Linked DNA regions of Homo sapiens: region 2 is linked to region 1. The links are contacts of gene promoters, found by promoter capture Hi-C in human tissues and cell types (Jung and others, 2019). All regions are on one chromosome and are shown on one strand. Each heading gives the region's core, a stretch centred on a gene start or on the middle of the fragment in contact. The rest is flanking DNA. Distances are from core to core; before and after follow the strand shown. Region 1 holds the start of ATG2A (autophagy related 2A). Region 2 overlaps DPF2 (double PHD fingers 2).

Region 1 (5,385 bases), core at 2,000-4,499:
CAGCAAAGGGGAGGCAGAATTTCCCATCTGGGCACCAGGGTGGCCGTGCCGTTGTCTGGAGCCCCTGTTCTGTGTGCCACTGAAGGGCAGGAGACAGGGCGGCCAGGAGGGGCCTGCTCACCAGTCTCAATGGTCTGGGCAAACATCTCCAGCCCCTCCAGGGGCTGTGGTGGCTCAGAGGGCTCCGGTAGCCCATCCCGCAGACACTCCTGGGCCAGCTGCAGGCTTGTGGTCATGCATGAGGCCCAGCTCTGTGAGTCGGCAGCCCCTGGCGCTGTAGGGAGAAACAGGGTCTCAAGGCAGGCAGGCCCAGTCAGGTCCTGGACGCCCCAGCCCACTCTCCCCACTTGCCTGCCCCCAGCCTCGCCCTGCCCTCACCTGGACCCCGGCGGGGCTGCAAGGTGAGCTGGAGGCCGGACACGCGCACTGTGCAGTGGTCGGTGAGCAGAGCAGCCCAGGGCACGGCCACCTCGATGGAGCCCACGAAGCCTTCCACCAGCTCCAGCGGTGACTCCATTGACTCCAGCACCTCGTTCACAGACTGGGAGCAAGCAAGAGACAAAACCAGCTCAGGGAAACCCCAAATCCCACAGGCTGGCACAGCCTTATCTGGCCATAGTGCCTTGGAGAGCACCCTTGGCTTGCCCTGTCCCTCCACGTGTTATCTACAAGGTCCCACCTATGCTCATGCTGTCCCCTACTACAGGCCAGCCCCCCTACCCCGTCACCCAAAGGTGCCTAATCCTTCAAGCCAGAGCAGATGTTTCCCTCACCACTTAATTCAAGATAATATTTACCGAGCACTTTCTACATGCTGACACTGAGACTAGATGGGTAAATAAAATGTCTTCATTCCCCAGCCAAGCTAGGCTCCAGCCAGGGACTCAGAGCAACTAGGATGAAACTCAAGAGGTGAGCAGGTGCTTGGGGGTGGTGAGGGGGCTGGTGGGGGGGCCGTGGGGAAGACGCCTAACCCAGCCTGGGCCGTCAGAGGAGGGGCAAGCTGAAGAATAAAGGGAGGGGGGATAGGCGCTGGTAGAAGGTGGTGTGTTGCAGGCACAGGACAACATGGGCACATGTATGGCAGAGTCCAGAATACCCATGTTCACCCTGGATGAGCAGAGTTCAAAGGGACAGTGTCCAAGAGAGGGGCTGACCTAATGCCAGATGGGACCCCCCCCCCCCACCACCAACCCCAAACACCTAGTGTAGCTGTGCCTCTCTGTGAGGCACAAGGCTGAGCCCCTGGCTAAAATGTCCATGCTGGAGTTGTACCCCTGCCAACCTGGAAGCTCCTGGAGGGCTGTACCCCACCTGCCTCCCCCGTCACCCCAGGTGCCACCCAGAAAGGGCCTCAGTAAACTGGTTGGATCCAAGAATAAAAAAGCACATGGCAGAGCAGATGGGAGTCCAAATTCCTCACCCAGAGACCCACAGCTCGGGAAACTGAGGCCTAGAGACAGGACTAATCTAGTCACCCAGTATACAACAGGGACTGAGACTGGGATGCGGGCCTCTTTCTTTTCATGCCACTTCAGAGGCCCCAGATACTCAGTTTCTTTGGGGGCCTTCAAGGCGGGGCCTGCAGGCTGAGCTGGGAGGGAGGAGGGGCTGGTTATCAAGAAAGCGCCTGCATTCCACCAGGGCCCTAGAGAAGCCAATTCAATCCCCAACAAGAGGGCAGGGAACAGGAGTAGGGGCGTTTTCTGGAGCTGAAAGTAAAAAGGGGAAGCCTAGGGCTGGGTATGGTGGTTCATGCCTATAATCTCAGCACTTTGGGAGGCTGAGGTGGGAGGATCCCTTCAGGGGTTCAAGGCTAGCCTGGGCAACATAGCGAAATCCTGTCTCTATAAAAATAAAAAAGGGGCAGCCTAGAGACGGCCTTAGAGGCTGAGGCTAAGGTTAGAGGTCAGAGAGGGCTTCCTACACCAGAATTCACAGACAGCAGGCCACTGGGGGGTGCCCCCAGTTCAGGGCCCACGATTATCCTACCCCACATTTGCTCACCAGGGCCTGGCCTACCCCCAAAGCCTAGCTCTTCTGCCCAGATTAGCAGCCCCCTGAGTCCAGCCACAAAACTGAGAAGTCCCTGCCTCCATGCCCACCCCTGCTGCTCTGGACCTGGTGGATCGACCAGGACGCGCCTCTAATTGGTGGCTCCTTCAAAGCTCCCCAGGTCAGCTGAGCTGTGAGTCAGGGCTCCTCACCGTTCCCAGCCTCAAGCCTCTGACCTTACACCTCTTGGCCTCCCTAGCATCTCCCTTGGCCTCCTCCCGGCTTGAAGCCAGATCTCCCCACCTTTCCTCCAGGGCCTCCCTCCAGGCAGGGACACTGAGCCGGGGGGGTCGGTGGGAGATGTAGGTGGGGGCCATCCAGTCCCTCCCTAGACACCCACTTGGCCCATCCCACTCTCCCAAAAGCAGGAAGTAGGCAGCGACCCAGGCACACGAGGTGTTGATCAACACTGGTACTGACGTACTGACGCGGTTGTTGACATACACATCCGGTGGTTTGTTGATCCCACCTACGGGCTCAGGACCGTGGGGTCAAGAGGTCAGGGCACATGATCCACAGGTGTCCTCGCCAGGGCTCCGGACCCCTACCAGCTTCCCCCACCAGCTGCGCAGGCCCAAGTCTGTCACTGCCCTGGCCCAGCTCAGTTCCTACGCTCCCTCCCCAGCCCCTCCTCAGCCCGAGAGCCAACCTCCTTAACTCAGCCCCCAAACTCGACGAGTTTGTCTTGCATTCTCCAGACAGGTGATCTTGCCCTCTCCAGCCTCAGTTTCTCCTCCCGTGGAGACAGAAACCCCTTCCCGCTCAGTTTCTGGCTCTGGTAAGGAACTGAAGAGGCCAGCCGGGGTGCCTCTGACGCCTGGAGAGGGCAAGATTCCCCTGGCCTCTCTACGCCCGGTGCCTGATCCCCCAGCCCGATCCTGCCGCAGGGAGCCTCAGGTCGCTGCGCTCCCACCCTCCGCACCTTCCTGGACTCGGGCCTGGCTCCTCACCCAGATTTCCAGGTGGATGTCTCGCAGGGCAACGCTGCCCTTGTACAGATCGAGGCTGAGCTGGTCCAGGCTGAGGTGCTCTTGGAAGAAGTGACCTAAGTAGTGGTGCAGCAAGTAGCGGCAGACCCGCTCTTTCACACAGTTTGACCATGGCCACAGCCATCGTGACATCTCGGAGACCGCCGGGCCTGGGCCGCCTCCGCTTGCCGCCCGCCGGCGATCCCCGTCCGGCTCCGCTGTTCACTAGAGCCCCCGGCTCGCCCCGCCGCTTCTCTAGGCGCCAGGCCGCGCCTCCGGACGCCCAGCCACGCCCCCTACGCTCACTGTCATTGGCTATTGCAAAGGGCGAGGCCTACTGATTGGCTGCGCGGGGCGGAGCCTTCGGGCGCGAAAAAGGGACTGGGCTCTCTGCATGATATAGGGCTCTCAATCATGATTTACGCTTGCGTAAAGTACTGTGTGGGAGGACCTTTAACCTCCCCTCTACAGGCTCTGGGAAGGCTGTTGCTCCAGGTGCCGGCCCCTCAAAGGAATGCGCATGTGCTGATTCGTCCAACCACTTTAAGTGGTTGGGGAGGATTTAAAGGGACAGTGTCCCATCAAACTTCGTAGAAGCCTTCCCCAGAGGAGTAAACTCAGTGCGCGATCTTAAGCGCGCATCTGTGGAAACAATTAAGTGAGTAAACATTCGCATTTTGCAAAATCTTTTACCATCCTTTATCTCATTGAGCCCTCTTAATAATCGCTCAAGGTAGGGATTATTGCCACCGCTTTACAGGTAAGAAAACAGATTAAGATACGAGAAAGACCCTGCCTCAAAAACAAACAAAAATAAATAAGGGCTCTGAATCCATCACCAAGGAAGGTCTTTTTTCCCCTCCTCACCCCGGAATGCTCAGAGGGAGATTAACTGACCCTCCCTTCTCTCTGCCGTCGGTCAGGCCTTAGGCACCTCTCTGAAATAATAATAGCTTTTCATATCTCTAGTCCTAAAATCAAAGAATGGATTCTGCCTCCTTTAAGCAGGGGGGCATTGTTTTTGTACGGCCTTTGAGCTAAGTATGGTTTTTATGTCTTTTAAATGGTTAGGGGAAAAATCAAAAGAAGAATGAACTTTTCATGGCATGTGAAAAATCATATGAAATTCACATTCCAGTGTTTATACATAACGTTTTAGTGTCACACAGTCTTGCTCATTTGCTTAAGTTCTGCCCCGGGCTGCTTTCTTGCTACAAGAGCAGAATTCAGTACTTGAGACAGAGGCCTGCAAAGCCTAAAATATTTATTTTCTGGCCCTTCACAGAAAAAGTTTGCCAACCGCTGCTCTGTAGGGGGCAGCCACACAAAACCTCTTACATCATGGGCGACTTCAGGAACAGCCATAGGTAATTATGTTTCTTTTCTTTTCTTTTTGAGACAGACTCTCTCTGTCACCTAGGCTGGAGTGCAGTGGCACAATCTTGGCTCACTGCAACCTCTGCCTCCTGGGTTCAAATGATTCTGCTGCCTTGGCCTCCCAGAGTAGCTGGGATTACAGGCATGCACCACCGCACCCAGCTAATTACCGTGTTGGGCAGGCTGGTCTCGAACTCCTGACCTTAGGTGATCAGCCTGCCTTGGCCTCCCAAAGTGTTGGGATTACAGGCACGAGCCACCGTGCCCGGCCTATGTTTCTATTTTATTTATTTTTTTTGAGACAGAGTCTTGCTCTGTTGCCCAGGCTGGAGTGCAGTGGTGCAGTCTCCTCTCACGCAACCTCTGGCTCCTGGGTTCAAGGAATTCCTGAGTAGCTGGGATTACAGGTGTGAGCTACCCCACCTAGCCTGTGTTTCTATTTTAATCTTACTTGGGAGCTGGACTCTTACATTCTAATGCCAAAACTCAGCCTGAAGCAAGGGCAACCGCCCTGGCCCACCGGGCAGGGACCTGTATTCCAGTCCCACCCATGGGTGGTTTCTTCTCCTCTTGTGACCCTCAGTTTTATCCTATGTAACTGGGGTTGGGTTAGTAAGTGGAGATAGTTCATTACCTGGAAGGAGCAGGCTCCATTCAGGGAGGCAGGCTGATAGGACAGCCATTCAGAAAGTGCTTATGGGCCAGGCACGGTGGCTCATGCCTGTAATCCCAGCACTTTGGGAGGCCAAGGCGGGTGGATCATGAGGTCAGGAAATCGAGACCACCCTGGCTAACACAGTGAAACCCCATCTCTACTAAAAAATATTTAAAAAATTAGCAGAGTGTGATGGCGGGCGCCTGTAGTCCCAGCTACTCGGGAGGCTGAGGCAGGAGAATGGTGTGAACCTGGGAGGCGGAGCTTGTGGTGAGCCAAGTTTGTGCCACTGCACTCCAGCCTGGCTGACAGAGCGAGATTCTGTCTCAA
Region 2 (3,905 bases), core at 33-2,532, 430 kb after region 1:
GTTCTTTATGTTATCACTTACATATTCTTCCAAATTAGGGAGTAAAGCACCTTGCCTTGGCTCAGTTTAGAATGCCTTCCTAACATTTCAACTTAAAGGGTTTAGTGTTTGCACATTATCAGCTACATTTACAACAGAAAATCAACAGCCCAGAAGAAAGCAGATGCTGAGCCGAGATCAGGCACCCAGAAGGAATGATTTATTTTCTTCCAACCAGTCCAGAAAACTCAAGTGGTAGATTATCTGATGTGAAACTTCTGCAGTCAACTCTTGAAATTTGATAGATTTGAGCATTTATTTCCTATCCCTTCCCCTTCTGAACTGGGAAGGGACTTGACTTTGGAGCCTGAATGGGTCAGTCTGCTTCTCCGATAACTTACTGTAATAATGGTCCAAATTTATTAAAGCTATTCACTGAAACCAGTGGTGGCACCAAGAATTGGTTGCATCTCCACAAGTCCCCTTCCAGCTGGATTTCTGTACATAAACACCTCCTGTACAGAAATTGAGTAGCAGCTGGGCGCGGTGGCTCAAGCCTGTAATCCCAGCACTTTGGGAGGCCGAGGTGGGCGGATCACGAGGTCAGGACATGGAGACCATCCTGGCTAACACGGTGAAACCCCGTCTCTACTAAAAATACAAAAAAATTAGCCGGCTGTGGTGGCGGGCGCCTGTAGTCCCAGCTACTCAGGAGGCTGAGGCAGGAGAATGGCGTGAACCCGGGAAGCGGAGCTTGCAGTGAACCGAGATCGCACCACTGCACTCCAGCCTGGGCGACAGAGCGAGACTCCATCTCAAAGAAAAAAAAAAAAAAGCCAACAGAAATTCAGTAGCTTACTCAGAACACAAATGCCCAGGAGCTGTTACTGTGCACAAAGGATGTGGGCCAGCATTACAGGCAAGAGAAAGTGTTTCATTGTGTGATGTAAGCTGACTTGTAACATATCGGTCAAACTGCTGTCACCCCTCTAGAGAATGAGGCCCCTGACAATGTCTAAGAGTCCTTTAGCAGCTGTAGGGGAGTACTCAGCTTCTGTCAGGCCCAGTTTATGAATCTGCTTTGGGGAGAAGTCGCATGTTTATGTTTTGTTTTGTTTTGTTTTTTTAAACCATCAAACAGATGATCTATGTTACAGAATGGCTTTCCTATTAAAGTTCTGTGGGACATCGAGGTAGTGGAGAGCTGCAGGCCCGAGTGTCCTCACTGTAGTGTTAAGGCAGCTGAGGGGCAACCCCTAGAAGTATCAGATGTTCTAGGTCAGGGTCAGCAAGCTACAAGCTAAAACCTATGGACCACATCCAGCCACAGCCAGCTTAAATAGCTTGCAAGCTGTTTTGTTTTCTTTTCTTTTCTCTTTTTCTTTTTCTTTCTTTCTTTTTTTTTTTTTTTTTTGAGACAGTGTCTTGTTCTGTTGCCCATGTTGGAGTGGAGTGGCATGATCTCAGCTCACTGCAACCTCTGCTTCCCCGGGCTCAGGTAATCTGGTAATCCTCCCACCTCAGCCTCCTGAGTACCTGGGACTACAGGCATGCCACCACACCCGGCTAATTTTTGTATTTTTAGTAGAGACGGGGTTTTGCCATGGTGCCCAGGCTGGTCTCGAACTCCTGGGCTCAAGTGATCCACCCACCTCAGCTTCCCAAAGTGCTGGGATTACAGGTGTGAACCACTGCATCTAGCCTGAAGAAAATCCCCTTAAAAATATAAAAACTGGCTGTGCACTGTGGCTCGCATCTGTAATCCCAGCACTTTGGGATCTCTTGAGCCCAGGGGTTCAAGACCAGCCTGGGCAGCATGGCAAAACCCCATCTTTACTAAAAATAGAGAAATTAGCTGGGCGTGGTGCTGTGCGCTTGTAATCTCAGCTACTATAGAGGCTGAGGCAAGAGAATTGCTTGAATCTGGGAGGCAGAGGTTAGAGTAAGCTGAGATCACACTGCTGTACTCCAGCCTGAGCAACAGAGCGGAAACTCTTGTCTCAGAAAAAAAAAAAATAAAGGGAGTTAAAAAAAAAATGCATGAGACTGTATGTGGCTCACACACCCTAAAATATTTAACACTCTGGCTCTTTACAGAAAACTTTGCCAACCGTATTGACCTTTGGGTTAGAAAGGACTTACATTTTTGAGTCACCTGTTTCTGAAGAGCTGATAAAAGCCCTAGAATAATGTCCAAATGCGCATAGGTATAATTTTGCTTATCATTTCAAGGCATTAAGGACTAATTTTATTCAAAAAAAATTAGAAGAATTCAGCCATAGTCAATATTAATAAACAAGGAATGACCCAATTGTTTTTCATATAAGGGACAATTATTTTGTGTTTTTTAGTGAAACTACACAAGTCTTAAAACTGAGGTGCTTGACAAACTTCTGTCTTCCCAGGCCCTCTTCCTACTCCCAAAACTTCTGATTTAATAGGGCCAAGAGGGCCTGGGCATCAGTATTCTGAAGTCCTCTAGATGATTATTTCTTTCATCTCCATAGAGGATGATATTTCATAATATTTGAAGACTTAGAGGTTTATCCCAGCTCAGGAAACCATGGAACTTTCCTGCTGCAGAGCATCCCTCGTCCTACCTGTAGCTGATCCTGCTATAGAGATGGGGTATCAAGAGCAGAGGAATTGCAAGCAGGTGGGGATTGTGTGGGACCCATCCTGACCCCATTTTGCCTCTCTGCAGGAAGTTGGAGCTGCCACCTGTGTCTGGACCTGTTGAAAGAGAAAGCTTCCATCTACCAGAACCAGAACTCCTCTTGATGTGGCCACCCACCTGCTCCCCGACATATCTAAGGCTGTTTCTCTCCTCCACTTCATATTTCATACCCATCTTTCCCTTCTTCCTCCTCTCCTTCACAAATCCAGAGAACCTTGGGGTGGTTGTGCCAGCCTGCCTTTGGCAGCTGCAAGCTGAGGTGGCAGCTCTGACCACCTCTGGCCCCAGGCCCTCAGGGAGAAAGGAGCAACACACTGCCCCTAGGCGTGCGTGTGGCCCAGTTTCTCTCTGCTCTCCATTAAGTGCATTCACTCTGCTTGCCTTGGGCCCAGCCCCTGGTGATCACAGGGTTCAAACAGTGTCCTCCTAGAAAGAGTGGGAGAGCAGCTCACTTCTCTGTGTTCTGCCTCCCCTCTGGTCTCCAGAGTTTTCCTGTCCTCTAGAGGCAAGCCAGGCCAGGGAGCTGGGAGCGAGCAAGCTGAGGCCACGTCCACAAGGAGCTTTTCATGCCCCTGTGCCGCATAGCCTCACCTCTTTCCTCCAGAGTGGCTCTCTGCGGCCCTGTGTTCCTGCTACAGAGTGTTCTTTTCTGGAGTCAGGATGTTCTCGGTCACCCTCCTGGTTCTGCCCTGTCCCATTCCACCCCACCCCAGGGGGAACAGTAGCTTCACCTTGTTATTCCCATTGCTCTCCTGGCTCACTCTTACGGTCGGTCTCCAGTGACTGAAGCATTCCCCACCCTTGGAATTTCTCATCTTCTGCCTCCCTTCCTACTCCTTTTGGTTTTGTGGGGAGAGGGGAAGGATCAGGGGGCCAGGCCAGCAGCTCGGGGGCCACAAGGAGATGGATAATGTGCCTGTTTTTTAACACAACAAAAAAGCCTACCTCCAAAATCCCCTTTTTGTTCTTCCTGGACCTGGGCATTCAGCCTCCTGCTCTTAACTGAATTGGGAGCCTCTGCCACCTGCCCCGTGTATCCTGGCTCTCAGCTCATGGGGAAGCCACATAGACATCCCTTTCTTCCCTTGCACGCTCGCTAGCAGCTGGTAAGGTCTTCACACCCTGATTCCTCAAGTTTTCTGCTTAGTGGCACTGACATTAAGTAGTGGGGGGACAGTCCATGCCAGGACACCCTGGAGTAGCCTTCCCCCTTGGCCGTGGGCAGGCCCTAACTCACTGTCGCTTTGGA

The links. Contacts are between HindIII fragments. The study calls those that stand out against the background at their distance.
Region 2: a fragment that was not itself captured here is called in contact with the fragment with the promoter of ATG2A in region 1 in 1 of the 25 tissues and cell types used here (lymphoblastoid cells).

The regions. Positions count from the first base shown.
Region 1 is chr11:64,913,960-64,919,344 of GRCh38, forward strand. ATG2A (autophagy related 2A) reads right to left here and starts at 3,250. Exons shown (of 41, transcript NM_015104.3): 1 at 3,006-3,250; 2 at 379-541; 3 at 122-274. The coding sequence starts at 3,176. It also overlaps a transcript of PPP2R5B not described here. RefSeq lists a silencer at 3,162-3,471 and an enhancer at 3,522-3,651. The HindIII fragment of the contact is 28,686 bases long and covers 1-5,385 here.
Region 2 is chr11:65,349,000-65,352,904 of GRCh38, forward strand. It overlaps DPF2 (double PHD fingers 2), which reads left to right. Exons shown (of 11, transcript NM_006268.5): 11 at 2,684-3,905. The coding sequence ends at 2,760. Among named protein-coding and RNA genes, the nearest start is that of TIGD3, 3.8 kb to the right of the region's middle. The HindIII fragment of the contact is 5,512 bases long and covers 1-3,905 here.